Regions from separate parts of the Homo sapiens genome. Here regions 1, 2, 4, 5 and 6 are each linked to region 3. The links are contacts of gene promoters, found by promoter capture Hi-C in blood cells and fetal thymus (Javierre and others, 2016). All regions are on one chromosome and are shown on one strand. Each heading gives the region's core, a stretch centred on a gene start or on the middle of the fragment in contact. The rest is flanking DNA. Distances are from core to core; before and after follow the strand shown. Region 1 holds the start of MFHAS1 (multifunctional ROCO family signaling regulator 1). Region 2 has its middle 6.1 kb from the start of TNKS. Region 3 holds the start of AGPAT5 (1-acylglycerol-3-phosphate O-acyltransferase 5). Region 4 overlaps TNKS (tankyrase). Region 5 overlaps ERI1 (exoribonuclease 1). Region 6 overlaps MFHAS1 (multifunctional ROCO family signaling regulator 1).

Region 1 (2,726 bases), core at 206-2,705, 2.2 Mb after region 3:
AGGGGCAGCAGCGCGGCAGGGAACTCCTCGAAGAGGTTGGAGGAGAGGTTGAGCATTTTGAGCCGCTGCAGGCAGCTGAACTGGGCGGGCAGAGCCTGCAGCCCGTTGTTGTCTAGCATGAGGCTCTCCAAACTGGCCAGCTCGCAGAAGCCGGCGGGCAGCGTGCCAAGCTCGGCCCCACTCAGCCAGAGGATCTTGAGGGCACGCAGGGCACTGATATCCTCAGGCAGGCCCCGCAGCCGGTTGCTGGACACGTCCAGCTCCTCCAGGGCCACCAGCTGCAGCAGCTGCCGGGGGAAGGCAGTGAGCTGGTTGTGATCCACGTCCAGGGTGCGCAGGCGGGAGAGGCAGGAGAGGGAGTCAGGCAGGTGCGCCAGCCGGTTAAAGCTGACATCCAGCTCCTCCAGGTGAGCGAGAGCGCCCAGCTGGGCGGGCAGGGCGGGCAGCTGGTTGTGGCTGAGGTTGAGCTTCCGCAGCTCCCTCAGAGCACTCACCACCTCCGCGCCCAGGGCGGTCAGCCGGTTGTGGCTCACGTCCAGCTCGGTGAGGTGGTGGCCGAGCTCGGCCACCGCCGGGGGCAGCCGGGCGAAGCGGTTCCTGCGCAGGACCAGGACGCGCAGGCTGCCCAGCGCCGACCCCAGCCCCTCGGGTACCTCCTCCAGGCCGTTGTTCCCCAGGTTCAGTGCCTCAATGTCCCCGAGGTTGGCCGGCAGCACGAGCTGGGGGGAGGCGGGGGACTCGAGCGCGTCGGCCCCGGCCCCGGGGCAGGCCCCGGCGGCGGTAAGCGTGAGCTGGCGCAGGTTGCTCCGCAGCTTCCTGGCACGCAGGGCGGCGTCCCGCCACAGCCTCGCGGTCTTCAGGTTGCCACTGTCCATCCCAGCCATGGCGGGGCCCCGGGCCGACAGCCTCACGCGGACGCGGGAGCCCGCAGCTACATGCCGCGCCGCGCCCCGGGCCCTCCGGCTCCTGCCCCTGCCTGCCCTCCCGCGCTCGGCGGCCGGCGGCCGCGGGTCCTAGCGCAGCCAGCGGCCGAGCGCTGGCGGCTAGGGGGCGGCGGCGACGCGAGCGGCTCCGGGGGACGCCGAGCGCGTGGAGAGCAGCTTGCATTCTCCCTGCGGCCGGGCCATGGGCGCGCCGGGCAGCAGGGCCGCCGCCCGCGCGCCGCGGAGGATGCCTGCTCCTCCTCCCTCTCCGCCCGCCGCGCGGCGCCTCGGGGGGCCCGGCTCCGGCCCCGCTACCCTCGCAGCCGCGGTCCCGCGGCCGGCAGCGGCGTCGCCTCCTCGAGCTCCTGGGGGAGGGCGGCGCTCGGCCCGGCGGCGGGCATGCTGCGGGCGCAGGGCTGGGGCGCAGCCGCGGGGAGGGGGCGGCGGCGCCTCCTTGTCTCCGTTTCCCCGGGCTCGGGCGGGAGCGCGGGCGCCGCGTCCCCGGCGCTGGGAGGGCGCGATTGGGAAGCGGCAGCGCCGCCCGCCGGAGCGGCCCCCACGTGACCGGCGGAGGCGCCGCGTTTTCCCGGCACCGCCCCGGGGGCGGGAGCTGCGGAGGGCGCCGGGTGCGGGGCCGGGGGCGCCTGGCGCGGGGCCGGGTCCGCGCCCCGGACCATGCTGGGCGGGGAGGTCGTCCCAGCGGCGGATGTGGGGCTCCGGGGCCCCCCTGGTGGGTTCGCCCGCGCCTGGCTCTTTGTTGGCCCCCAGTCTCTAAGGATTTCTTTTTCTTGTTCTCTAATGCGTCGGATCCGCCGGCTTCCCTTACTCATCCTTTACCTGCTCCCCTGCCGCTCGCCTTGCATCCACGCCGTAGTGGAACTGGCACAACTCGGGGGCCCTGGGTATCATCATAGAAGCTTAGGACAAGAGTGTGGTTAAACAAAATTAGAACAGGCAACCATTCATTCATTTGGTAAATATTTCCTGAGGCCCTATTTCGTGTTGAACATGGGACAGGAGTAATGCAGGCTGGTCAGAGGAGAATAAAAAATACCAGGCAGCAGTTTCACTTGACTGGAGGCTATGGGCTGATAAGACCCTGAAAACCAGGGTGTGTACCAAGCTGGCTAAGACCGGCTGGACCCGACGTGGTCCTGGATTTGACCTAGGTTTCTCCTAGGCCTCCATTATACGCTCTTTAACATCCTAAGTCACACCAGTGCCATGACAATTCCGGGGACACCCATATTTGAAGTAAAAATGGGTGGCACCACAGTCCCGAAAAATCTCCACACTTTTCCAGGAATTTTCATGAATATTTCACCCCTTGGTTAAAGAAACCCATAAAGGTAGCAGCCCCAAGCCCCGTTGTGAGTGACCCTCTCCACAATCCCTTTTCCTGGGTGTGTACTTTTCCCTTTGCAATAAATCTGCATATTGTCACTATTTTCTGAGTTGTCCTTGAACTCATTCTCTGGATGTGTCAAGAGCCTGGACATTGGCTGGGGTCAAGGTCGCACTGGCTTTAGAGGATCTCCCCCAGCCCACCCGTACCAGAACTACTAAAAGACGGTTTTAACCCCCCTGGGGAAGGCTTTTGAGCAGGTGGCCCGCCAGCCTAAAGGAGGGTTGTTAAGATGGGGGGGACACAAGCTGTTTATCTGGGGTATCCCGTTTATCTTCACAACAACGCTGTGAAACAAATACTGTATCCCCATTAATACAGTACCTGTTGTTCTGCGGACTCAAGAAAACAGCTATTTTGGGAAACAGTCACAGTCCATTGTTCAACTCTAATGCTTA
Region 2 (2,835 bases), core at 332-2,831, 2.8 Mb after region 3:
TGAAACCCATAAACGCTACCTTATATGGCAAAAGGGACTTTGTAGATGTGATTAAGGATTTTGAGATGGGACATTATCCTGGATTATCTGGGTGGGTCCAATGTCACCGTCATTTTTGGAGACAGGGTCTCACTCTGTCGCCCAGGCTGGAGTCCAGCTGCGTGATCTTGGCTCACTGCAGCATCTACTTCCCCAGGCTCAGGTGATCCTCCCATGTCAGCCTCCCAAGTAGCTGGAACTGCAGGGGTGCACCACCATGCCTGGCTAATTTTTGTATTTTTCAGGACACAGGATTTCGCCATGTTGCCCAGGCTGGTCTCAAACTCCTGGGCTCAAGTGATGCTCTCACCTTGGCCTCTCACAGTGCTGGGATTACAGGCGTGGGCCCACCACGCCTGACCACAATGGTCCTTTTAAGAGTGCAGTAGGAGTAGGGAGAGTCAAACAGAAGATGATGGGATGGAACCAGAGATGAGTGATGTGCTTTTAGGACGTAGGAAAAGGTCACAAGCCAAAGACTACAGGCAGCCACTAGAAGCTGAAAAAGTCAAGGAAAGAGATTCTCCCCTCAAAGCTCTCAGAAGAAAATTCTCCCCAAAGTCCTCATAAGATGCCAACATTGCCGATGCCTTGACTTTAGCCCAGTGAAACTGATTCCAAACTTCTGCCCCAGAACCGTAGGAGAATACATTTGTATTGTACCGTTTCAAGGCACTAAGTCTGTGGTCATTTGTTATAGCAGCTATAGGGGACTAGTATACCCAGCCTCTTAACTGAGTAAAGCCAGAAAGATGTACATGAACAAAAGGAACGATGGAGAATAATTGCCCTCTGGTAATACCAAGTGGCAGAAACTATGCCACTTCAGTCTATTGTCCTGTATAAAAATAGGCTGATGGCTTCATATCACCTGATTTTCCAAAGAGGGCATGTATTAGTTTTCTTTTGCTGCTGTAACAAATTATCACAAACATAGTAGCTTAACACAAATATATTTTACAGTTCTGCAGTCATAAATCTGGCATTGGTACCATTGGGCTAAAATCAAGGTGTTAGCAGGATTGAGTTATTTTCTGGGGGCTCTAGGGAAGAATCTGTTTCCTTTTCTTTTGCAACTTCCAGAGACTGCTCACATTCCTTGGCTTGTGGATTCTTCCATCACCTTCAAAGCCAGCACTGACTGGTTGAGTCTTCACATGGTATTACTTTCAACCTCCTTCTGTGTCTCCCTTTTGTACCTATAAGGATGCTGATGATTACATTAGGCCCACTCACATAATCCAGGAAAGTCTCCCTGTTCTAAAGTCTGTTGATTAGCAAGCTTAAATTCCATCTTCGATGTTCATTCCACTTTGCCACATAAAGTAACATATCTGCAGCTTCCAGAGATTTGGACTTGAGTATCTTTGAGGTGCCATTATTCTGCCCACCTTAAATGTGGATATAAAAATACATTGTAGATTGCTGTATTATCTGTAGTCTTTGATTTTTTTAGGTTTTCTGTTTTTTCTCTCATGTTGTTGGCCCTCTCTCATGTGTGGTGATTCAAGGTTGTAAATTCATCTTCTGTGGGATGTTCCTTCTGCAAACATCCTGGACCACACTGACTTCAGGAATTATGGCTGTGTTGGTTTCTCTTGAGGTGGTCTTGGCAGCTGTGGTGGTTTTCCACACAACAGAGATGGTTTCTCAGCACTGCAGGGAGGAATATGTTTGAGAGAAACCTGCCTACCTCAGGCTGAGGTGCCTTCCTTTGTAGAGTTTCTATCTCTCCTAAATCCTGACCACAGCCAGAAGGGACTATTTGCATTTCCCTTAATATAAGAGTCCCTTTTCATTTCCAAGCTTATTAGACCTTCCTTTAAGACACTGTAAAGCAAAAGCAGCAGCATGCATGGGAAGCCAAATAACAACAATATTGAGTAAAAGGAGACCTGCTTGTTGTTGGGCAGACAAGACTAGTGTCTCTTAGGTGACCTTTATACAAAGTATATCCCATCCCTGTTCTTGATAACAATAAAAGCTGACACTTACATTCCATTTATCACATGCCAGAAACTGTTTATTGCACTTGGCATATATTAACTTACTAATTTCTCAGAACAACTATTAATGTCTCTACTTCGTGTCTCTACTTTGCAGGTGAGTTTACAAAGAGGTTGTGTTAGTTTGTTCTCACACTGCTACACGGACATACCAGAGACTGGGTAATGTATAAAGGAAAGAGGTTTAATTGACTCACCGTTCCACAGGGCTGGGGAGGCCTCAGGAAACCTACAATGATGGCAGAAGGGGAAGCAAACATGTCCTTCTTCACATGGTGGCAGCAAGGAGAAATGCAGAGCAAAATGGGGAAACGCCCCTTATAAAACCATCAGATCTCATGAGAACGCACTCATTATCATGAGAACAGCATGAGGGTAACCATCCCCATGACTAAATTACCTTCTACGAGGTCCCTCCCATGACATGTGGGGACTGGGGAACTATAATTCAAGATGAGATTTGAGTGGGGACACAGCCAAACCATACCAGAGGTTAAATGACTTATCCTGGATTGTACAGTATTTTTTTCTGAGCAACTCAGCATCAAAAGACCTAGGTTCAGGATATGGAGGAATAGGTAATACCAAGAGAAGTTACACACATACACCACTTAAACAGCTTTCATTCATTTCCTTCTTTCAACAAGCCAAGTAACAACAGCAAGCAAGTAAAAGGAGATAGTGGGTGGAAGGCACATACCACATGTTTGGGGATTGATTAATGCCTCTCACTGCCTGGGCTGCCACTCATTCTCAGCCGGTATTTCTGATGGTCTCTGCTGGCAGATGT
Region 3 (2,700 bases), core at 151-2,650:
TAGAACTTCCCACTGAAATACCGTCCTGCCTAAAGGTAGCACAGGCTCCCATTATGGTGGTGGTGGGGAGGGGGCGGGAATATATATATATATATATATATATATATATATATATATATGGTAAAGCATTCGGCATTCTTTTAAAGTACAACTATCCTTGAAAAGGGTTACATATTAAACCATTTTTACCACAGCCAAAGGGGAGGAGAAAGATCCAAAAGTCCTGTGGATCTGCTTTAACATCAATAAAACAGTTATCCACCCTTCGTAGCTTTTAGTGAAGGCTACAAAAGTATGCTTTTTATGGATTACACATGTGCACGCAACTACTTTAATTACTACAGAAAAAAACGAGGCTCCTTATTAAAAAAAAATCAGAAACAAGTCCAACAGACTCTGAGGAAATGAAGCAAGAGTGAATTCTGAAAAGGTCTAATAAACAGTATGGAAATATCCTTGTGGGATTGTTCTTCAGCTATGCATAAACATGTAATTATCATCATTACTGTGATGGGGAAAAACACGGACCCTAATTCTGAAACACCCTGGTAGCGAGAGACGGGCAGGAGGGGCTGCTGCGCACTCAGAGCGGAGGCTGAGGAGGCGGCGTCCCCTTGCAAAGGACTGGCAGTGAGCAGATGGGGACACTCGAGCTGCCCCGCGACCTGGGCCGAGCTGCCTACAACCTGGGCCCAGGTGCCTGCAAGAATTAGACCTCCGATAACGTTAACACCCACTTTCTCACTGCTCTAATTGTGTGCATCCCGGCGCCCAGGGGCTTGTGAGCAGCAGGTGCGCGTTCCAGGCAGCTCCAGCGACCCTTAAACCTGACCGCGCGCACGTCCGGCCCGAGGGAGCAGAACAAGAGGCACCCGGACCCTCCTCCGGCCAGCACCCACCTTCACCCAGTTCCGTCAGTCGCCACCACCTCCCTTCCCGCGTCCGCAGCCGGCCCAGCTGGGGAGCATGCGCAGTGGCCGGAGCCGGGTTGCCCGCGCCCCAGCAGGTAGCTGTACTGCAACTGTCGGCCCAAACCAACCAATCAAGAGACGTGTTATTGCCGCCGAGGTGGAACTATGGCAACGGGCGACCAATCAGAAGGCGCGTTGTTGCCGCGGAGCCCCCTGCCCCGGCAGGGGGATGTGGCGATGGGTGAGGGTCATGGGGTGTGAGCATCCCTGAGCCATCGATCCGGGAGGGCCGCGGGTTCCCTTGCTTTGCCGCCGGGAGCGGCGCACGCAGCCCCGCACTCGCCTACCCGGCCCCGGGCGGCGGCGCGGCCCATGCGGCTGGGGGCGGAGGCTGGGAGCGGGTGGCGGGCGCGGCGGCCCGGGCCCGGGCGGTGATTGGCCGCCTGCTGGCCGCGACTGAGGCCCGGGAGGCGGGCGGGGAGCGCAGGCGGAGCTCGCTGCCGCCGAGCTGAGAAGATGCTGCTGTCCCTGGTGCTCCACACGTACTCCATGCGCTACCTGCTGCCCAGCGTCGTGCTCCTGGGCACGGCGCCCACCTACGTGTTGGCCTGGGGGGTCTGGCGGCTGCTCTCCGCCTTCCTGCCCGCCCGCTTCTACCAAGCGCTGGACGACCGGCTCTACTGCGTCTACCAGAGCATGGTGCTCTTCTTCTTCGAGAATTACACCGGGGTCCAGGTGAGCCGCCTCCCGCTCCCGGGTCTCGGCGTCCACCCGAGCTCCCGGGGGCGCGGACCTCTCCGCTCCCCCACAGCTGGCGAGGGTCACCCGGCCGGCCCGGCGGACCCAGCACGGAGAGCACGTGCCGCCTCCCCGCCTTCCTCTCCGCATGCTTCCTGCCGTTCTGCCGAGATCGCTCTCTAGGAAGCTGTGGCTGCGTCGTCCTGAGGCTACGAGTGGGACCCGCCGCCCCTTTCCCCGCCCCTCGCCTGGGTCTGATGCTGCTTAGCAAAGTGGGTGCAGATGCACGTTTTAAATAATAGGGCACGCGTTTAGCAGTTTCTGGCCTTTGGTCCAAAGAGGTGGTCATGTTGGAACAGATCGGAGACGTCTACACTCCGAAGTGCGCTTTTACAGTGACCTCTTGAAACAGAAGTACAATTCGGTCTTGTGTTCTTTCCCCTGGACAAGTGAAAGCTGGGCGAAGAAATGAATACATTTGTTAACCGTAGAAGCCTAACTAGATACATTTCTTGCCAACTTTAACTGGGCTTGAATGTGTGGGTGATCTGTTGTCTGATTACTTTCTTTCTGTTACTGTTTCTCTGTAGAGATTGGATTCGTAGATTAAACTTGAGAAACAAACCATAAAAGTGGAAGGCCCTCTTTAACAGTAGGTATTTGAAGTGTTATAAAAAAAAAAAAAAGGTGAATTTTTCTTTTATTTCTCAGTTTGAAAGAACAGCTTTATTCTTGGTTATTCCTAATGTCCACCTAGTCCTCTTTTACTTTTCTTGGTAGGGTTAGGGTGGCATGGGGAAATGGGACGGTATCATTTTGTCTTTTTAACTTTTTTTTTTTCCACCTACAGCAGCTGTTTTTACCCTGTGGTCAGTCAGGTACTATATTTAGTTTGCAGTTGCACTGCTGATCGACCCTTGATGGCCCCAGTTGGAAGTTGTTTGGGGGGAAGGAACTAGGAGAGGCCAGGGCCTCCATTTAAACCAGTGTCTGTAAGTGTCTCCTTGGAAAGAAAAAAAGATACTGTTCCAGGTCATGGTTTCCTGGTAGT
Region 4 (2,988 bases), core at 322-2,821, 2.9 Mb after region 3:
TGGGTTGGAGTCTGAGGGCTAGGTGCAGCCTCCCCTTACGGGGCTTAATAAAACCAATGAAACATACACGAGAAAGAAACATTCAGAAATGGACTTTCAGTTTCTTGGTGAATAAAAAGCATTATATCTTCAAGAAAAAATGAGTAGGGTGGGTTTCCTAGGGATTTCTACTAAAGCCTAGGAGCTCAGGATAACCCCGGGGCTCATTAAAAAAAAAAAATCACTTTGATTTCAAGTAATTGAGGAAAGTTTTAGGTGTTTTGTTTTTGTGTGCCCGTTGTTTTTCTTTTAAGGCTTCATCAGATGTCTAAGTTTGCTTTCACCAGAGCGAGTTACTGAGTTCTCTTCTCGAATCTTGTTTTGCCAGTTTGTTCAGGTATCTGTTTATAGAATTAAAGCAGCGTGAGGGTAAACTTTTTTTTAAGCTGTTTTTTGGAGTGTGTCAGCTCCCCATTCAATTTAGACAAGTTATTTATTTATTTATTTATTTTGGTTTTGGAAGAGGGAAAATAACGTGATGTAAAATTTTTTCTCTATCCCTTTTGCCTTTTCAGTAGAACAAACTAAACTGCTGGTAGGTGGCAGATGTTTGGACTTGTTTATTTTTTCTTCTTTGGTATATTTTCTTTTAAAGTGAGGAAGCATTTGGTAGTTAGCAGATGATTTCCATGAACTACAAGTCCAAACTGAACAAAATTTGTTTTAAATTTACTGATTGACTCAAAAAACCTTAAAGCTATAGTCTCTGTGTCATTAGTTCAAAAATAAACTAAACCAGCCAGGCGTGGTGGCTCACGCCTGTAATCCCAGCACTTTGGGAGGGCGGATCACAAGGTCAGGAGATGGAGGCCATCCTGGCTAGCACAGTGAAACCCCGTCTCTACTAAAAATACACACACACAAAATTAGCCTGGCGTGGTGGCGGGCGCCTGTTGTCCCAGCTACTCGGGAGGCTGAGGCAGGAGAATGGCGTGAACCCCGGAGGCAGAGCTTGCAGTGAGCCGAGATCACGCCACTGCACTCCAGCCTGGGTGACAGAGCAAGACTCCGTCTCAAAAAAAATAAAAATAAATAAAAATAAAAATAAACTAAACTCCCTGATGCCTTGTTAAAGTGTGTGTATACACACTTTTTTGTGTCTACATGTATATAACTTATTATATATGTCAAATTATATGTTGACATATATATTATATACATAGTAAGTAGACATTGAAAAGTTCTGATGCCCTCATTCTGATAATACTCATCAACCGTAGAAACCATTTTGACATTCTCATCAGTCATGTTAATAAGATGTGCAGGTCTCCTCTTCCAAATGCTTGGGTTATTCTCATGTTGACTGTGGAAATTTGGTATTTTCAAAAGAAATGACATAGAATTACACTTAGTTAATACATCTTAGCTATTTTTTTCTAATGTCTTGAGGTACCAACTTATGTTTTTCTTCTTTGCAGGAAAATATTCTTATTTGGAAAAAGAAAACTTTTTGGATAAATTTTTGAAACTTTGAGCAAGCTATCAAAAGTTGTCTGCCTCCTCCTTCTCCCCAGCCCCAAAATACACAGACTTAACAACAGAAAAATATAACTGTTATCCTATGTTAATTTATGAAAGCAGATAAATATGGGGTATATAATAAGATAATTTCATTATTTAATTCAATGAATTGCTTGTTTTAGTGCTCTGTAAGTATTTGAACAAGTAAACTTTTTGAGTTAACACTTCTGATTTCTGATCTTCTGACATTCTTAAGTACATAAATATTAATCCTCGTATATTAGCCCAGTCTTTTTTTTTTTTTTTTTTTTTTTTTTGAGACGGAGTCTCGCTCTGTCGCCCAGGCCGGACTGCGGACTGCAGTGGCGCAATCTCGGCTCACTGCAAGCTCCGCCTCCCGGGTTCACGCCATTCTCCTGCCTCAGCCTCCCGAGTAGCTGGGACTACAGGCGCCCGCCACCGCGCCCGGCTAATTTTTTGTATTTTTAGTAGAGACGGGGTTTCACCTTGTTAGCCAGGATGGTCTCGATCTCCTGCCCTCATGATCCACCCGCCTCGGCCTCCCAAAGTGCTGGGATTACAGGCGTGAGCCACCGCGCCCGGCCTAGCCCAGTCTTTTGTCATCAGAGTCCAAGGTCACATAGCTAGCTTTTAAGTAATGGTGCCAGATTTAAACCCAATCTGGTTGTCGTAAAATCATTTGGTCTGTGCTACTCAAATGGAAAGTTGATAGCAATGAGAAATAAAATCTGTATTTTGTGTCATTTTGTAATCTGACGATTCTTACTGCTTTCTCAAGTTGGTTTTCTGGTAATAAACGTAACTTTACAAATTTTGGAAAGTACAGTAAAAAGTAGGGCATCATCTTCCCACCCCAAGGGAGCTACTAGTGATTTTGACATATTCCCTCCAGTCCTTCTCTTAGGCATTTAAAGTAAAACTTTTTTGTAAGTATGGTATTGGAACATTTGCAGTTACTAGAATGTTGGGACTATCTGGTCTTTTGTTCAGTTGATTGTTTTTATAAACATAAAAAGTGTGATTGGAAGTAATCTTTGAAGAACCTCATAACTAAATGGAAGAAGGAAGGATATTTTAGCAACTGCTTTCTTATTTATTTATTTTTTTTTTGAGACGGAGTCTCGCTCTGTCGCCCAGGCTGGAGCGCAGTGGCGCGATCTTGGCTCACTGCAAGCTCTGCCTCCCGGGTTCACGCCATTCTCCTGCCTCAGCCTCCCGAGTAGCTGGGACTACAGGCGCCCGCCACCACGCCCGGCTAATTTTTTTTGTATTTTTAGTAGAGACGGGGTTTCACCGTGTTAGCGAGGATGGTCTCGTTCTCCTGATCTTGTGATCTGCCCGCCTTGGCCTCCCAAAGTGGTGGGATTACAGGCCTGAGCCACCGCACCCTTCCAGCAACGACTTTCTTTAAAAGACTATATAGAGTTGTTAGAAAATCTCGTAGATAAATTTTGCTGTATGTTTTGA
Region 5 (2,700 bases), core at 138-2,637, 2.3 Mb after region 3:
GATTTGAGCATCCTTCTTTGTGAACCATTAGTGTAGATTTGAAATTTGGGAGGAGACACTGCTTTCTGAGGATTGGACCTCGGCTGTCTCTAGAACTTCACTGAAGGAAGAGAACTAGAGCTGGACCTAGGAAAGGAAGCAAATTTTTCTTTATGGAAGTCATAATTTATAGCATCTATAGAAGAGGCCTAAGTGTTACTTGTGAATAATTTTTCTAGCTACAGTTTAGGATGAGAATTAACCAGTGAATCAGAAAGAGGATTTATCCAAAGAGAAAATCTGCTTAAATTAACTGAGACATCTGTTTTGGTAGACAAACTGTTACTTAATGTTGACCTAAATTTTAACCTGAAATTTACTAAATGATGACTAAAGATGAAGTTTCAAATTCAATGTAAATTTAAAGTCAAAAGATAATTTTTTGTAAAATTCTGGTCAAGCAGAGCAATATCTATTGTAAATCTAATATATTGTTGAAAGTGAATCATTGGTCAACTAGCAATACTTTTTTTTTCCTTAACATTGTTAACAAGGAACCTCAGTGTGGCTGTTCTTTAATTTATGGACAGTTCACACATTGGAACTGCTGACCTCTTCCTCAAAGGAAATGGGTGAGTCACTCTTGAGTACTCTGGCACCTTACCTAGCATTACATTTCCAGTAAATGTGTGTTGCATTAAATTGAGAGCTTAGAGTAAGAAATGGTTCCTGAACCATCAGGATCAGTTCTGAGTTAGGGACTGTGGCCTCTCTGTGATTATCCTTCCTTGATCTATAATTACAGTTTACGTGAGGACAATGTGGTACATTATAACTAAGGTAACAAGCTTTAATAGGGATAATTAGTACTAAATATTTTTCAAAATTATGGAACATAGCTAATATTTGTGATATTGCATGTGGAAAATAACTTACAAATGAATCTTTGGAACTTAACATATTAGTAATTTGAGACTGCCTGTGGAGAAAATAGAATTGAGTCATGTTTTTTCTTAACAGATTTTTATTTATGAAAAAATTCATAATTCTATAGTTCTTCTGGTTAGTGGACCTAAGTACAACTTTTGGAAAATGTAAGTTTTGAAATTAAATACATTTCCTTCTTTGAGTACTAGGAAGCTGTAAATTAGATTTGCGGTCCATTTTGTTTTTATGTTGGGCAATTTTTGTTAACTTTGTGAAATGAAGTCAGGTTAAAAAATTATCAGAAGTTATTACACATGTATAATGTAAAAGTTCATTTAAAAATGGGTTCATTTGTAAATATTAGCATATTGTTTGTGAAGGGCTTGTTGTATAGCCTGTGATATTAATAGTTACCATTTATTAATAGCTACTGTGGGTGTAGGGGTCTGATACACATAATCTCATTTAATCTTTGTAATAATTCTGCCCAAACACTATTTACCATTACCAAATTACCATTTTATAGATAAGGAAATTGAGGATCAGAGGCTAATACGTAGCTATCCAAAGTCATGCTGCTATTTCTAGTAAATAGTCAGCTGGGGTTCTCTATTGAGGTGGTGTTGACTCCCACCACCAGTCTTCTTTTTACTTAGCTTTGTTTCCTTTGAGGAACCTCATGACTCATAATAGAGTGGGGTAAATTGTATTGGAGACGCATCTTCCTTCTTATCCTTTCCTCCGTTTAGGAGCTGCAGTGAACACTTTTCATTGAACATGTAGCATGAAGAGGCTTCAGAAGTTTGAAAGTTTGAATCTTTAAATCTGTGATGTTTGTACTAATTATAAACTACATCCTTTTTTTTTTTTTTTTTTTTTTTTTTTTTGGTAGGAAACTCAACAGTGTAAATTTGATGGCCAGGAGACAAAAGGATCCAAGTTCATTACCTCCAGTGCGAGTGACTTCAGTGACCCGGTTTACAAAGAGATTGCCATTACGAATGGCTGTATTAATAGAATGAGTAAGGAAGAACTCAGAGCTAAGCTTTCAGAATTCAAGCTTGAAACTAGGTAATTAAAAATAACTTATAAAATTATAAAAGTAGTACATGCTCATTTTAGAAAATCTTGAAAACATTGAAATATTAAAAATCATCTGTAATCCTACCGTAATGACATGATCCTATTAACAGTTCACAAAAACTAATTAACATTTTTTATGTGCAACTCTGATTATTTTTGTCTGTCTTCTAGATGATAGGACTGCTGAATCAAAGTCAAATATTTTAATGACCTACCGGCAATGTATAGGAGTCTCTGTCTTATTATGACAAGAGTGTTTTAAATTTTTTTAGTTGCTCATTTAAATGATGGATAGTTATATTAGTGAGATAGAGTATTTTTTATTTTCTTTTTGCCATTTGTATCTTTTATAAAAAGAGTTTGTTTGAAATCAGGTACAATAAATTAAAAACATTCACTTAACAGGAATATTTTTTGTTTTAATTTCTAAAAAATAATCTACAATGATCGTTTGCATTATGTTTCACTGTATATTGAGTGAGAAAACAATGCAACTTAGTCAACTGTATGTGTATTTTAATGAGATATACACATACCTAAGTTTTTAGTAATTTTTTGCGAAACAAATCACTTTACGTTCATTGGGCCATGGGGCAGAAATGGCTTTTGGAGTCCAGAAAAATACATCGATTTTTGATAAACGGTAGAACTGCCAGGCATCAAGAAAAAAAATTGCCTGTATGAAATAGGTAAAAACTCTTCCTTTTTCAA
Region 6 (2,858 bases), core at 359-2,858, 2.2 Mb after region 3:
AAGATCACTCCACTGCACTCCAGCCTGGGCAACAGAGTGATCACAAACACGCAAACAAAGAAAAAACTACTTGGGGACTTGACATCTATTCATTCATTTCCCCCTCACAACATCTAAGGAGACTCTGATAGCAGGTGTAAATGCTTGGGAACTGTTAGAATTATTTTTACCTATTTACAGACGAAATTGAGGCCCAGGGAGGCCAAGTGGCTTCCCAGAGGTCCAGGCCCCCGACTTCCTAATCCACTGATTTAATTACATCCAAGGCTCAGATGCATGGGCTCAGATGTATGAATGGCATTCAAGAAGTGCCTGGGAGAGGTTAACATACTGCTGATAAAAGATGCAAGGCCTCTTTCTCTAATGCTGGTTTAATATAAAGCAAGTAAGCTGCATGGCAATATTCATCTCTAGCTACAGCTAAGGTGACACTTGTTCTGTCACCCTACCTAGGAAACCGTATCAACTCCCTGAGATGAAAATCTGCCCCATTCCAGAAATGAGCTAAATCAAAGGAGGGAGAAGGAAGGAAGAGGAGGCTAAGGCAAAAAGTTATTCACACTTTGCATAAACATGCCCGGATGGCAAGCATTATAAAACGATCTGTGTAACATAAGCTTCTGGGTCCATGGGAGGCAAGGGAGCATGTGACTGTGCACGGATATGAACAAAGCCAGCGACACACCACCAGATTCTTCAAAAGCAAATATTTGTCTATGACCAAAGAATCGGGATTCTTTTCTAACAAAGAGGAATGTACACCGTTCTAATTCCTGATTCTTCCTCCTGCTTTACAGTGGGTTATGATCTCGATGGAAATCCCCCCATGAATAAATGTGTCTGCAATCACAAATGGCCCCATAAATCAGAAGATTTATGAACTGTAAAAGGGGACGGCAGGAGGATTCCAACCTTGCAGCTTCCTTCATGCGGACCACCTGGGGCCGGATGCATGGCAGTTTATCACTTCCTGGAAACAGTCATCTGGCTTTTCTTTTTAGCTAAGCAAGAAAATGTTATCAGCCCTGGTAATCAACAAGATGCAATCATCCCTGCTATTTGGGTAAGCTTTTAATGCCGCACCACATTACACAGAGGAGGCTCAGATGCATAGGCTCGGATGCATGAACAGCATTCAAGAAGTGTCTGGGAGAGGTTAACACACAGCTGATAAGCTCTGGCTGGCTGCAGTGAGGCCTGGCCCAACAGCCCCTAAGGCAAATTCCTGAAGGGACTAAATAGAAAATGAGTGGATATTCCCTATTCCAAGGGAAAAAATAAAAATAAAAAAAAAGATGGGAACAATACAGTAACCAGGGAAAAGCACAGAGCATGCACATGTGTGTTTTTCTTGGGGAGGGGGAAATGCATATATTTCAGAGGCTTAACAAATACATTCAAAAGAACACCTGCTCCATCCCAGACAGGCAGCAGAACATCGTGCAAGAGTGAGACGGAGACAACCGGGCAGTGCCACTCGTGAGCCATCTGGGAGTGAGGGGTGTCAGGGAAGGGGACAGATGCACCCTACAGGGCTTTGCATCCCAGTTCTTATTACTGTACCTTGGGCACAAAACAGCCCAGCTCTAGGCAAGCCAGTGAGCCATTTTTGGTATCATAGTGTTCTTTTGGAAAATTCACATTTCTATTTTTAGTTCTTCCACATGCAATTCATAAGCAATAGCCCTCCGGAATCAAAGTCACCTCAGCTATGCCATGAGTCAAGAGAATCCCAGTGAATATATTTTTTAATAGCATGTTCAGGGAAAATGTGACCAGCTCTGTTCGGCCATACTGTCTGCATTGACTTGGCAGTTAGCATGAAATGAAGGATTTTAAAGACCAAACACTTCAATGAGTCCTGTGAAAAAAACTCCCAAGAACCTGACTGGGGACTTTGTTAGCTTGAAATAAATATATACGTCATTAAGTATGTTTTAAACACAGAAGCAACTATAACAGGATTTAATTGCTTACTTTTTTTTTTTTTTTTTACAGGTCAAACACATTTTAGAGTGCTGGGTTACACCCACTCTTTCTTCATCACATGTACAGAAAGGCAAAGAGTGTGGGTAATCTCTTAAATTTTAAATTCCCACTTGGTATGAGGATAAAACATCCAAGAAACATTTCCTGTGCAGAACACACCAAGCTTAGGTGTAGAAAATACAACGGTGTGGAACTCGAGAGGATGGTTCTAGGATACAAATAAAAACAACCACGCAGCGCGGGAAGATTTTTGTTTAGAAAACAGATGGGACAGAAAGGCAGATGCAATGTTTTGAGTCAATGAGATACAGTTCGTTCTTAATTATATTTCATTGATTTCTTACATGGACAGAACATCATTCTTGCTGCCACTGTTTTATTTTGATCAGCGGTATATCTATCTGTAAACATGTACAATTTGTAATTATTGCTATGTCTAAACACTGCATCACGTGTAATGGCTGAATTAAGCTGTGAAATGCGTAATTATGCTGAAAACAATGGTGTTCCAATACACATCACCAAAGCCAATTTAAAAAAATTACCTTGTTTCAAATCACAAAGCGAAGCCTTCATAACCCTCGAGGCTTTTTTTAGGTCCCACCACTTTGATTTAGAGATTTGTCTTTTTCTAATTGCATCTCAAGAGTGTTCCGAGCACAGAGAGGGATTATTAACCCTGAAGGAAATAAAACTGAGTATTTCTTACACCTCTGGAAGGTGGAGAACGTACTTAGTTTAACAATCTGGAAAGGATCAAAGGTCTGCCGGTATAGGTGTGACTGAACAATACATCCATTGGTAGACTACTATGCTATATTTGTAGGATATACTATAACATTCTACACACACACACACACACACACACA

The links. Contacts are between HindIII fragments. The CHiCAGO score rates a contact against its expected background, and 5 or more counts as called.
Region 1: the fragment with the promoter of MFHAS1 here is called in contact with the fragment with the promoter of AGPAT5 in region 3 in 1 of 17 cell types (fetal thymus); the score reaches 8.7 in fetal thymus.
Region 2: a contact is called between a fragment that was not itself captured here and the fragment with the promoter of AGPAT5 in region 3, in 2 of 17 cell types (total CD8 T cells and total CD4 T cells). The highest score is 6.5, in total CD8 T cells.
Region 4: a fragment that was not itself captured here is called in contact with the fragment with the promoter of AGPAT5 in region 3 in 1 of 17 cell types (activated CD4 T cells); the score reaches 8.6 in activated CD4 T cells.
Region 5: a contact is called between a fragment that was not itself captured here and the fragment with the promoter of AGPAT5 in region 3, in 1 of 17 cell types (erythroblasts). The highest score is 7.0, in erythroblasts.
Region 6: a fragment that was not itself captured here is called in contact with the fragment with the promoter of AGPAT5 in region 3 in 1 of 17 cell types (fetal thymus); the score reaches 5.7 in fetal thymus.

The regions. Positions count from the first base shown.
Region 1 is chr8:8,892,175-8,894,900 of GRCh38, forward strand. It overlaps MFHAS1 (multifunctional ROCO family signaling regulator 1), which reads right to left and starts at 1,456. Exons shown (of 3, transcript NM_004225.3): 1 at 1-1,456. The coding sequence starts at 884. RefSeq lists an enhancer at 1-837 and silencers at 682-951, 1,062-1,341, 1,352-1,601. The HindIII fragment of the contact is 4,068 bases long and covers 1-1,838 here.
Region 2 is chr8:9,548,370-9,551,204 of GRCh38, forward strand. No RefSeq gene overlaps it. Among named protein-coding and RNA genes, the nearest start is that of TNKS, 6.1 kb to the right of the region's middle. The HindIII fragment of the contact is 524 bases long and covers 1,320-1,843 here.
Region 3 is chr8:6,707,242-6,709,941 of GRCh38, forward strand. AGPAT5 (1-acylglycerol-3-phosphate O-acyltransferase 5) reads left to right here and starts at 1,401. Exons shown (of 8, transcript NM_018361.5): 1 at 1,401-1,646. The coding sequence starts at 1,428. MCPH1-AS1 (MCPH1 antisense RNA 1) reads right to left here and starts at 968. Exons shown (of 5, transcript NR_125386.1): 1 at 900-968. RefSeq lists silencers at 1,155-1,494, 1,555-1,794. The HindIII fragment of the contact is 5,238 bases long and covers 1-2,700 here.
Region 4 is chr8:9,564,803-9,567,790 of GRCh38, forward strand. The region is part of intron 1 of TNKS (tankyrase); the gene reads left to right. Among named protein-coding and RNA genes, the nearest start is that of TNKS, 10 kb to the left of the region's middle. The HindIII fragment of the contact is 3,966 bases long and covers 1-2,988 here.
Region 5 is chr8:9,006,172-9,008,871 of GRCh38, forward strand. ERI1 (exoribonuclease 1) reads left to right here. Exons shown (of 7, transcript NM_153332.4): 2 at 1,799-1,977. Among named protein-coding and RNA genes, the nearest start is that of ERI1, 4.6 kb to the left of the region's middle. The HindIII fragment of the contact is 1,124 bases long and covers 826-1,949 here.
Region 6 is chr8:8,871,499-8,874,356 of GRCh38, forward strand. All of the region lies in intron 1 of MFHAS1 (multifunctional ROCO family signaling regulator 1), which reads right to left. Among named protein-coding and RNA genes, the nearest start is that of MFHAS1, 21 kb to the right of the region's middle. The HindIII fragment of the contact is 1,084 bases long and covers 1,067-2,150 here.